Linked DNA regions of Homo sapiens: all the other regions are linked to region 1. The links are contacts of gene promoters, found by promoter capture Hi-C in blood cells and fetal thymus (Javierre and others, 2016). All regions are on one chromosome and are shown on one strand. The core of a region is centred on a gene start or on the middle of the fragment in contact, and the rest is flanking DNA. Distances in the headings are between cores, read along the strand shown. Region 1 holds the start of SKI (SKI proto-oncogene). Region 2 overlaps MORN1 (MORN repeat containing 1). Region 3 overlaps RER1 (retention in endoplasmic reticulum sorting receptor 1).

Region 1 (3,145 bases), core at 58-2,557:
GCAGGATGTAGGCCCGCCAGTTGGCCGAGTCGAAGCCCCAGTGGCAGGTCCGGTTCTCCAGGGCCTTGTGCGAGTGCACCACGAACTTGTGCGGCGGGTACATGAGGCGGCAGTCCAGGCACTGGATGCAGGCGGCGCTCGGGCTGCTGTAGAGCTCGGGCACCAGCAGCCCCTTACACTTGCCGAAGCACTCGTGGTACACGCGGACGCTGCGCTCGCTGAGCTCCAGGCCCAGCGCCAGGCTGGCGGCCAGCTCCTTCTTGCAGGGCGGCGGGTAGGCGCCGCCGTAGAGCAGCGCGTTGCACAGGCGCTCGGCGTCCGTCTTGGTGATGAGCCCGCACGAGGGCGCCGAGAAGGGCAGGATGCCCATGACTTTGAGGATCTCCAGCTGGTCGGCCGTGCAGCGCGAGCAGTAGATGTGGAGCTCGTCGCACACCGCGTTGATCTGCTGCAGCGAGAAGTCGCGCAGCACCGAGTTGAGAATCTGCGGCAGACACAGGCGCTTCTCGCCTCCCACCACGAAGCACGAGATGGTCTCGCCTTCCAGTACGGTCTCGCAGCGCTCGGTGGAGCGGTCGGACGGCATGAAGAAGGGCCCGGGCAGCACGGGCGGCGGCGGCTGGATGGCGGGCAGGTGCAGCACGGGCGGCGGCTCGGTGGCTGCGGGCACCGGCGCCGGCACCGCGGCCGCGCCCGCCTCCTTGGCGCTCTCCTTCTTGTAGGCCTCCTGCGCCCAGCGCGCCGAGAAAGCGGCCGGGCCGCCCAGCGAGCTCATGGAGCTCAGGTGGAACTGCTCCAGCGTCTTCTGCAGCCCCGGGTGCGGCTGGAAACAGCCGCGGCCGCCTGCCGCCGCCTCCATGGTGCGCTCCGGCTCCCCCGGCCGCTCCCGCTCCCGCGCGCCCGGGCCCCCCCGGCCCCCGCCGCCGCCCCGCGCGCCCCGGCGGCGCCCGCGGCCCCGACCCCGGCCGCCCCCCGCCGCCGGCTCACGGCCGATCACGGCCGCGGCCTCGCCCGGGGGCGCGAAGGGGAAGGCGGGCGGGGCGAAGGGGTCCCGCCGCTGGAGCCCGCCGCCGCCCGGGCCCGGCGCCACATCCACGCGCCCCGCGCCGCGCCCGCCGCCGCCCGGGCCCCCCGCGCGTCCCCCGCGCGCCCCCCGGGCTCTAGGCGCGGGGCATGCCCCGGCGCGCGCCGCCAACGCCAACGCCAACGCTCGCGGGCCCGGGGCTCGCGGGGGGCGCGCGGGCAGGTGCCGGCGCCGCGAGGCGCGAATCGCCGCGGCGGCCGAGGCCGAGGGGCCCGGGAGGAGCGGGGGCGCGGGCGCGGGGCCCGCCGGGCCGTCCTCGCGCGGCGCGCCGCCGCCGCCCCGCTCCTCCCACCGCGAGGCGCCCGCCCGGCTCGTCCCGGCGGCGCTGGCCGGCCGCGTCGCGCCCGCCGCCGGCCCCCGGCCCGCCCGCCCGCCGGCTCCGCGGCCCGCCCGCCCGGCTTCCGGGGCGGCGGAGGCGCCTCTCGCCCGCGGCCCTCAGAGCGCGGCGGCGGCGCGGGGCTCGGGGCGCTCGGCGCACATCCTCCCGGCGGCTCGCTCCGGCTCGGACTGAGCGCCCGGCGCTGAGCTCACGCCGCCGCCGCGCCGCCCCGCCCCGCGCCGCCCGCTCCGCCCCGCGCCGGCCCCGCCCCCCGCGCTGTTTGTTGCCGTGCGTCCGCCTCAGCCCTAGCGCTGGCCAAGAATGTGACCCGCTCCCCAGCCGGGCTCTTCCAGGAACGCGCGCTCCCCGCCCGGACTCGGCCGCGCTCGGCTCCGCTCGCCCGGGACTCGGCCACGCTCGGACCCGCCCTGCCATGACTCGGCTCCGCTCGGCCGGGACTCGGCTACGCTCGGCCATGCTCGACTCCGCTCGGCCCCGCTCGGCCCCGCCCGCCGAGGGCCGCTGGGCGCGGGCGGAGGCGGAGGCGGCGGTGGCGCCCGGGGCCCCCCTTCCGGCCGAGGCCGCTTCCTGCGCCGCTGGGAAGGCGCCCGTCTCGCCGCCGTCGGGGCCCAGAAACCCACAGGCCCCCGCCACGACCGCAAACCAGCTGGGGGCGGCCGGGGGGCCACGCCACGCACCCGGGGTTCTCCCAGGGTGGGACACCACACAGCGGGGAGGCCCCGGACGCCTCTGGGGTCCCACACACTACCGGGACGCCACACGGTGACCTGGGGTCCCACACACGAGGGGGACAGCGGCCACGCCCAGGGACCCTGCGCCGAGACGGGCACCGCGTCGCGTGACCCTGGCGGCGCAGCCCGGCGGCCCCCGCTGCGCCGTGGCCGGTGGCTCGGTGGCCGAGTGTCCGCGGCTCCCGGCCGCGCCGGCCCCGCCCCGCCCGCCGGCCCCTGGCGGAGTGTCCCTGCTGCGCGGGCCGGGGGCTTCGGGCCTGGGAGGGGCGGCGCCCGGTGCCCCAGACGCAGCCGGTCTGCCAGCCACTCCTGCCAGGTGGCTTATCAGGACTTCGGCCCCGCGGGGCCCGGCGTTCGGGCCGGCGAGACCCCTGACCTCCGCCCCGGGGCCGTGGAGCGCTGAGACGTCTTTCGGGGTCGGATCGGCCGGCCCTCCACGCCTGGCCACGCAGTGGGAGAGACTCAAGCCTTGGCAGGGCGGGGAGCGGGAAGCCCGGGGCCCCGAAGTTGGACAGTCGGCCGGGTGGTCTCCAGGGGAGGCAGCTTCCAGCGAGGCCTGCGGGCGCAGGGACGCAATGGTGTGTTTGGGGAGGGGCAGGGCTCGGTCTGTGCTCGCCTGAGGCGGAGGGACATGCCCCACGGGCCGGGGGTGCCCAAGCTGGCCTGGGTGCTGGGCGGAGGCGAGAGGGCCACGCCGCTGCAACCTGAGTGACCTTCAGCTGGGACCTCCTGCCCCTCACTTCCCCAGTGGAGGCTGGAACCTGCCTCAAACCAGCACTCCTGGGCGCAGTTCCTATCCTGGGGGAGCCGGCCCGGAGTCCCTGTGCAGGTCTTGGCCGGACCTGCGGCAGGGCAGGTGTCTAGAGAGGCAGCCAGGACCTACCTGTAGGTGACCCCAGGGCGGCTCCATACTCCCTCTCTCCGCTGCCTTGGGGGTTGTCTCCTTGTCCTCACACTCCACACTGTCCCCCGACTCTTCCCATTCACTCC
Region 2 (3,087 bases), core at 497-2,996, 130 kb before region 1:
GACTGTGTGCCTTGTTCCCCAGATTCTCTGCTCATTTTCCTCAACTGAGGGGTTTGTTGGGCTCTGCCTCAGTTTCCCCTCTCTGCAGCTCATCCTGCACGTTCTTTTAAGGCAGCAGCCAGGGCAATTATAGAGTCCACGCCGTTTGTTTCCTTCTTTCAAGGATCTGTCCTGAGTTGCCTGGTGTCCGGGATCCTGATATCAATTTCATTGCACTTTGTCGGCTTTCTTGGTTGTTGGAACCAGGGGTGTCAATCGATCCCAGTTACTCCATCCCCATACAGATGTCCAGCAGGCTACGCTAGTGTTTTTACATTTGACATCTTTGCTTTCCCAATCGTGTCTCCTTTGCCAGATCTTAGTAAGATGAGAGGCTGGGTTCCTGTTAACCTGTCCTCCATAGGACCTTGACCTCAGAGTCCGCATGACCAGGCCCTGGACCTGTGCCTAGTGCCAGGGGTGCAGGGCGTGATACATCATCCGTGATGATTGGGGGTAGCCCCAGGCTCTGAGGCGACCCCTCCACGGCCACCCCAAGTGGGAGCCTGCCTGGGCCCTGCTTTGTCCGAATGGCCCATGTTTGCTGAAGTCCAGTCATTTCCCACTTGAGAGCCCGTCCCAAAGCTCGGCATCCACTCTGGGGCACCGGACTGGTCTCCTTCCTCTTCTTCTTTTGTTTCCCTTTTTTTTTTTTTGAGACGGAGTCTCTCTCTGTCGCCCTGGCTGGAGTGCAGTGGCATGATCCTGGCTCACTGCAGCCTGCGCCTCCTGGGTTCAAGCGATTCTCCTGCCTCAACCTCCAAGGAGCTGGGATGATTGCAGGTGCTGCCACCACACTTGACTACTTTTTGTATTTTTAGTAGAGACAGGTTTCGCCATGTTGGCCAGGCTGGTCTCAAACTCCTGACCTCAGGAGATCCACCCGCCTCGGCCTCCCAAAGTGCTGGGATGACAGGGGTGAGCCACCACATCTGGCCTCCTTCCTCTTCCTCTTTGCTCCTCTCGGCACAGCCATCTTGCCTCCACCCACGGTGCCCAAGCCACTCCTCCCTGCTATCCAGCACTCCCACGTGGGGTCTTCTGGGTGTGGCTGAACACCCAGCTCCGCCACCTCCACCTGCCCAGCGGGGCCCAGAGCATCTGCACTCAGCAACTCAGAGGGACAGTGGTGTCCACTCCTTGGGCACAGTCCTCTGGGGGCCACCTGCAGCCTAAGGTTCCCAGGAGCAATGGGGTGCAGGATGGAGCAGCTGACTCAGCAGACACTTGGTGGGCACCAGCTGTGTGCCAGGCCCTGTGCTGGGTACCTTAGTGGAGGGGGGAGCCCATCCCCCCGGGTCAAGGTGGGAGATGGGCACGGAGAGCCTGCTATCTGCCAGGGTGATGAGGACCACCATGGAGGCCCCGGGAGCTTGTGAGTGCCAGTGCCACCCCACGCCCCTGACCAGCCCAAGGCCTGGGTGTGCCTGAGGTGAAGCCCTGAGGCTGGTCAGCAAGGAGATGCCTTCCCATAGTGTGCCAGCCCCAGGCTAGGGCAGGGGTGGAGCCAGGGGTCCCCGAGGCCTAGAGCTGGAGATTCAGGATCCAGGACCTGAGGCAAGGGGTACAGGGGTACAGGGGTATTGGGGTGAGTGTGGCCAGCACCAGAGATCCCAGGGCTGGGAAACTTCTGCAGGGCATGGGAGAGGAGCAGAGAGCCCACGGAGGGCAAGCCGGGGTCCTCAGCCCACCAGGGTCACAGCCACTGGCAAATGTGGCCCCGCTGAGTTATAAACACAGCGTCCCAGAAGCCTGCCCCGGGCCCGCGCACCCCGCTTCTGGGTGCCTGTGAGTGTTCACTGCCTGCTCCTCTCTCCTGGAAGGCGAGAGCGGCCGGGTCCTGCAGATCTCAGCGGGCGTCAGATACGTGCAGCTGTCAGCCTACTCTGAGGTCAACTTTTTCAAAGTGGACAGAGACAACCAAGAGACACTCATCCAGACCCCATTGTGAGTACGTGTGACACCAATGAGTTAGTTCTGAGTTTGTTTTGAGTTCATTTAGGTCACATTAATTCCTTGTCCTTTTTTCCCTAGAGACCTGGGCTAAGTCCTGGTTATGACAAATGAAATATTCGATGTCTGTTCTAAGGAAACAGCTCCCTTGAATTTCAGTACCTGACCCTCTGCTGTGGCCCCTCTTGCCTTCTGAGACCGCGAGCCCCTGGTCAGAGCCCCTAGTCTCCCCCAGCGCTCGGCCCCCAAGCCTCTGGGCCTGGGTCCGTGTCTGGAGTGGAGACATCAGGACTCCGGCCCTCGGGTGCTCCTGGGAGGAGGGTCGGCTGCAGAGATGCTCAGGCCTCTCTTGGTGCAGCCAGGAGGGGAGTGGCCCTTACCAGCCAGGCCTAGTTGGGCGCCACTCCCCACGCACACATCACCAGGCCTCCCAGGAACACGCTGGACCAGGCCAGTGTGTGCACAAACCCACACGCAAACAGAGGCCTGAGCTGCAGGACTCCAGGAAGAGGCCTCACTCTAAGCCCCGCAACATGAAAATCCATGCATTTTACCATTCACAGTCAGAACTTAGCAGTGCCCCAGGCGACCAGACCTGAGTGTGACGCCACAGCTCTCACACTCCCTTTTCCCACCGGCCCTTCTCCTGAGTTAAGGACTGTCTGACATTTGGGGTAAACTTGGACCCACTGTGAAGTCAGAACGCACCCGAGAGGTGACGCTGCTGGAGTTGTCATAAATAATAATGGGGGCGGCAGGCAGCTCTTCCTTCAAGCCAAGACCTGCTGTCTTCTCCCTGGCGAGTCTTTTTTCTCTCTGGGCCTCAACTGGCCCCATCCCAGCAGGAGACCTCCCAGAGAGGCTGAGTAGCGCTCCCTGGACTCAGTGTAGGCAAGTCCCAGGGTCCAGGGCGTGGGCCACGCTGTCTGCCTGCACCCTAGTTTGGTGTGGGGTGAGTAGAGCCAAGCTGCCCCCATTCCTTTGCAGTGGGTTCGAATGCATCCCTTATCCTGTGTCCAGCCCCGCAGCTGGGGTGCCGGGGCCCAGAGCTGCCAAGGGAGGGGCAGAAGCCGACGTGCCCCTGCCCAGGGGAGA
Region 3 (3,277 bases), core at 651-3,150, 170 kb before region 1:
TCCCGCCTCCATTTGATGTTTCCAGGTTTTCAAAACTGCATTTAACCTGCGCCAGAGAGTTCACCGTAGGCATCTTTAATAAACTAACTCCAGCAAAATGTGGGTACGTTACTAACACAAGATGGAACTTGAGATTTCCTGAAGCGCAGTGTTAAAATGCCTCGAGGGCGTGTGCCACATTTCCCTGCTGACGTAAAACACCTGGCCAGCAGGACCGGCTTCCGGCAAAGACCCGCGCAAACCATGTCTTGCTGTTTGACTTACTTAGGAATGAGGATGACCCTGTATTCCTGGGTTAGTCAAGGTCAGCTTGCCAGAGACGGAGGAGGGCGGGGGGGCCGTGACCCTCTAGACTGGGAGGACCACCAGGAGAGGCACTGGGGGCTGCGGCCGGGTGGGCAGATGCCGCCGTGGCTCCATCCATCAGCACCCAGTCCTTTGCTTCACTGTGCTCTGGCCAAGCGCGTGCGACTTCCTGTCACACCTTAGGCCTGAGCGCTTATTAAGAAAACAGTATGAAAAATGACAAACACTCCTGTCCACAGTCTGAGAATCCCAAGTGTCTCAACACGGTACCAGAAGTACCACCTGGGAGCAGCACTGGCTATCTTGGGTCAGGGACACACAAGCTTGAACGTGGCCTCTTAGAGGAGCTCGATGTCAGATATGTAAACACTGGTACAAGAAAATCCAGACACTAAGCATTCACCGTGTCAATTCTGAGACAGGAAACACCGCCCAGAGTGAGGAGCCTGCGCAGCCCGGGGCCCAGGAGGAGAGGCCTTCACTCGCATGTCAGTGTCTCATCTGGGACCACAGCTGTGATGTTCTGCTGTGCAATATGGGTCACCTTTCGAAAAGGCCAAACAAAAGGTGGGCTTTCCTGTGTCCAGCGACTGCCATGTTTTAGGTAAAGACTTTAGTAAAGGTGGAGGTAAAATCACTTGGTAAAACGTTGAGAGTATTTCTTTTCTCGAATCAAAAACGCTGACATGCAAGTGGGTTCCGCCTCTCCCGCAGTGGGGGGCCGAGTGCTGAACCTACAAAGCCAGTCTGCTCCCTGCCAGCTTCGCTGCCCCTCATGGAGGGTTGCATGAGGACAGATTTAAATTAAAAACAAAACACTCTACGTATCAAAGAAATGTGTCAAAATAATCTCAAACAATTAAAATATAATATATATTTATAATTCCGGGCCCTCAAAAGCAATCATGGTAGTTAAGAACCAAGTTTTGAGTCATTAGGATAGAGGCCAACTTTAAACATCTCCAGTGAGATGGAATTAGGAAACTGGCATTAGAACCCCACACAGTTACTTGACAATCACCTTTAAAACGTTAAGTTCTTTCGGACACGCAGGAATCAGGCTAGATCATCCCTCGGGCTCTGTGGAGTGGCTGGCACCACCTGCGGCTGCTGGGGAAGGCGGCTGGCGGGGAGCGGCCCGTTCCTCCCTCGCAGGCCTTGCTCCTGCCTGCCCACCTGGCACAGCGGGGACCGGCCACTCGCCCTTGCTCCCATGGGCTCCACCCGCCTGGCTTCCCGCCTGCAGCTGACTAGAATTCCATCCGTGAGAAACACTTGAACGTCACTGAAAAAGAAATCCATGCGATTTGGTTTAAGCGCCAGTTTCTTCTAGAACCTGATATTTCAGTTACAAATCATTGAAGCTCCTTTTTAAAAAGAAAATTTGACTCCCTCGTAATCAACTACTTTATGTGAAGAAAAAAGGCATTGTTAACAATGGCTCAAAACTGTTCTTGCAACACGTGAGGCAGCCTCAGTCCCGCTTCTAGCTGGCGAAGGCCTTGCCGGCATCCTCCTTGCCTCTGTACCTTCTCTTCCCATGTGTGAACGGGATGTACCGGTACTTAATCATGTGCTGGGGAGAGAAACACAGACTCAGTTACTGCACAACCGCTCTCCAGTCAGTCACACTGTCCCCAAATCTGAGCGGCCAAAGGTCCCCCATCTTTTCTATACATCAGACAAGTGGAATCGGAGCCCCAGTGGCTTCCTGCGCCCACATCAACACAGCAAGACCTTCCACAGCCCACGAGGCCTAGGTTTGAAACCCCATCAATCCCAGTGCTTCGTGAGCCTCCCGTGGAGGAAGGGCAAGGGGGATGTGAGGTGGCCCAGGGCCCTCTCTGCAGCCAACACCCCGGGCACAGAGTGAGGCCCGCAGCACGAAGGCCACACCGTCAAGGGCACAGTCCGCAGTCTCGGCTAACTTCCCCCTAACACCCTCCTCCTCGGGCAGGCTGGCGCGGGGCACTGGGCACCCTAAGAGGAGCCACCGGGACACTGCACTCGCCGGGGCTCTCCCACCCGGCTTCCACAAAGTTTCCACCAAGAGCCCGCCCGCTCCCACAGCTGCGCTCCCCGTTTAGTTAGCCGGCCGTGCTGGGAACGGAGCAGTGTCCTCGTCACACACAAGACGGTGCCACTTAGCTCCACATTCACACCAGGCAGACTCTGCCACCACCCACCACAGCCCAGCACAGCTCCCCCAATGCTGCGGGTAACAGAACAGCGATTGCGGCCGGCGTGGCGGCAGCGCCTCTGCTTTACCTTGATTTGCCTCTTCATCGTGATACAGAAGAGCATGATGAAGTACATCACCAGAATCGGCCAGAACACCGGGACGTTGAAAGCGTCGAAGAAAGTACAGACCATAGCCACAAGGATGCCCTTGGTAGCCGCATGCCTTCAAGTGGGGAGAGAAGGTTAGCGCCGCATCTGCAGCCAGCACCGGGCACCTGCCGGCCGCCTCCAGCCTTGCAGCTGCACCGACCGTCCCCGCAAACAGAAGCATCCCTGTGGAAAGGAGGGGTCTACCCTGGGCACAGCAGCAGCAGGACCCTTTGCATGTAGCTCACAGACATGTACTGCCCTAACCACAGAAACATCCTTCTCTTACTCCCTTGAAAGACACAATTCTTCTTAAAACTACACAAAGTATAAAGCATCAGTACTGAGGCTGGGGGCCCCATGCCTGCTGGCTGGGCCTGCGATCTGGAGAGAAACCCAGGCTGTGTCTTGTGGACCATCCAGGGCCTTCACCTTGTCACTGTGGCATGGCCACCAGTGCTCCCTCCCGTCCCAGCACATGGCCAACAGATGCCACGGCCCTGGAGGCTCAGCTCTCCCTTCCTAGTCCAAGCTTCTGGTGGCTTCCAGGGCCCCTGATCTTTCTGTACCACACTCCATCTGCGGCTGCAAAGTCAAGGCGTGGAGCCCCACGAGCTCAGCAGGCTCCTTCAGTTTACTGATC

The links. The method cuts DNA at HindIII sites, captures the fragments that hold promoters and counts their contacts. A CHiCAGO score of 5 or more calls a contact.
Region 2: a contact is called between a fragment that was not itself captured here and the fragment with the promoter of SKI in region 1, in 3 of 17 cell types (endothelial precursors, erythroblasts and megakaryocytes). The highest score is 6.1, in endothelial precursors.
Region 3: a contact is called between a fragment that was not itself captured here and the fragment with the promoter of SKI in region 1, in 3 of 17 cell types (total CD8 T cells, erythroblasts and M1 macrophages). The highest score is 5.5, in total CD8 T cells.

The regions. Positions count from the first base shown.
Region 1 is chr1:2,226,481-2,229,625 of GRCh38, reverse strand. It overlaps SKI (SKI proto-oncogene), which reads right to left and starts at 1,307. Exons shown (of 7, transcript NM_003036.4): 1 at 1-1,307. The coding sequence starts at 859. RefSeq lists a silencer at 1,477-2,246 and an enhancer at 2,566-3,145. The HindIII fragment of the contact is 10,430 bases long and covers 1-3,145 here.
Region 2 is chr1:2,357,491-2,360,577 of GRCh38, reverse strand. It overlaps MORN1 (MORN repeat containing 1), which reads left to right. Exons shown (of 14, transcript NM_024848.3): 9 at 1,863-1,986; 10 at 2,980-3,087. Among named protein-coding and RNA genes, the nearest start is that of MORN1, 33 kb to the left of the region's middle. The HindIII fragment of the contact is 4,053 bases long and covers 1-3,087 here.
Region 3 is chr1:2,401,640-2,404,916 of GRCh38, reverse strand. RER1 (retention in endoplasmic reticulum sorting receptor 1) reads right to left here. Exons shown (of 7, transcript NM_007033.5): 6 at 2,575-2,710; 7 at 1-1,882. The coding sequence ends at 1,793. PEX10 (peroxisomal biogenesis factor 10) reads left to right here. Exons shown (of 6, transcript NM_002617.4): 6 at 1-943. Among named protein-coding and RNA genes, the nearest start is that of PEX10, 9.3 kb to the left of the region's middle. The HindIII fragment of the contact is 2,537 bases long and covers 632-3,168 here.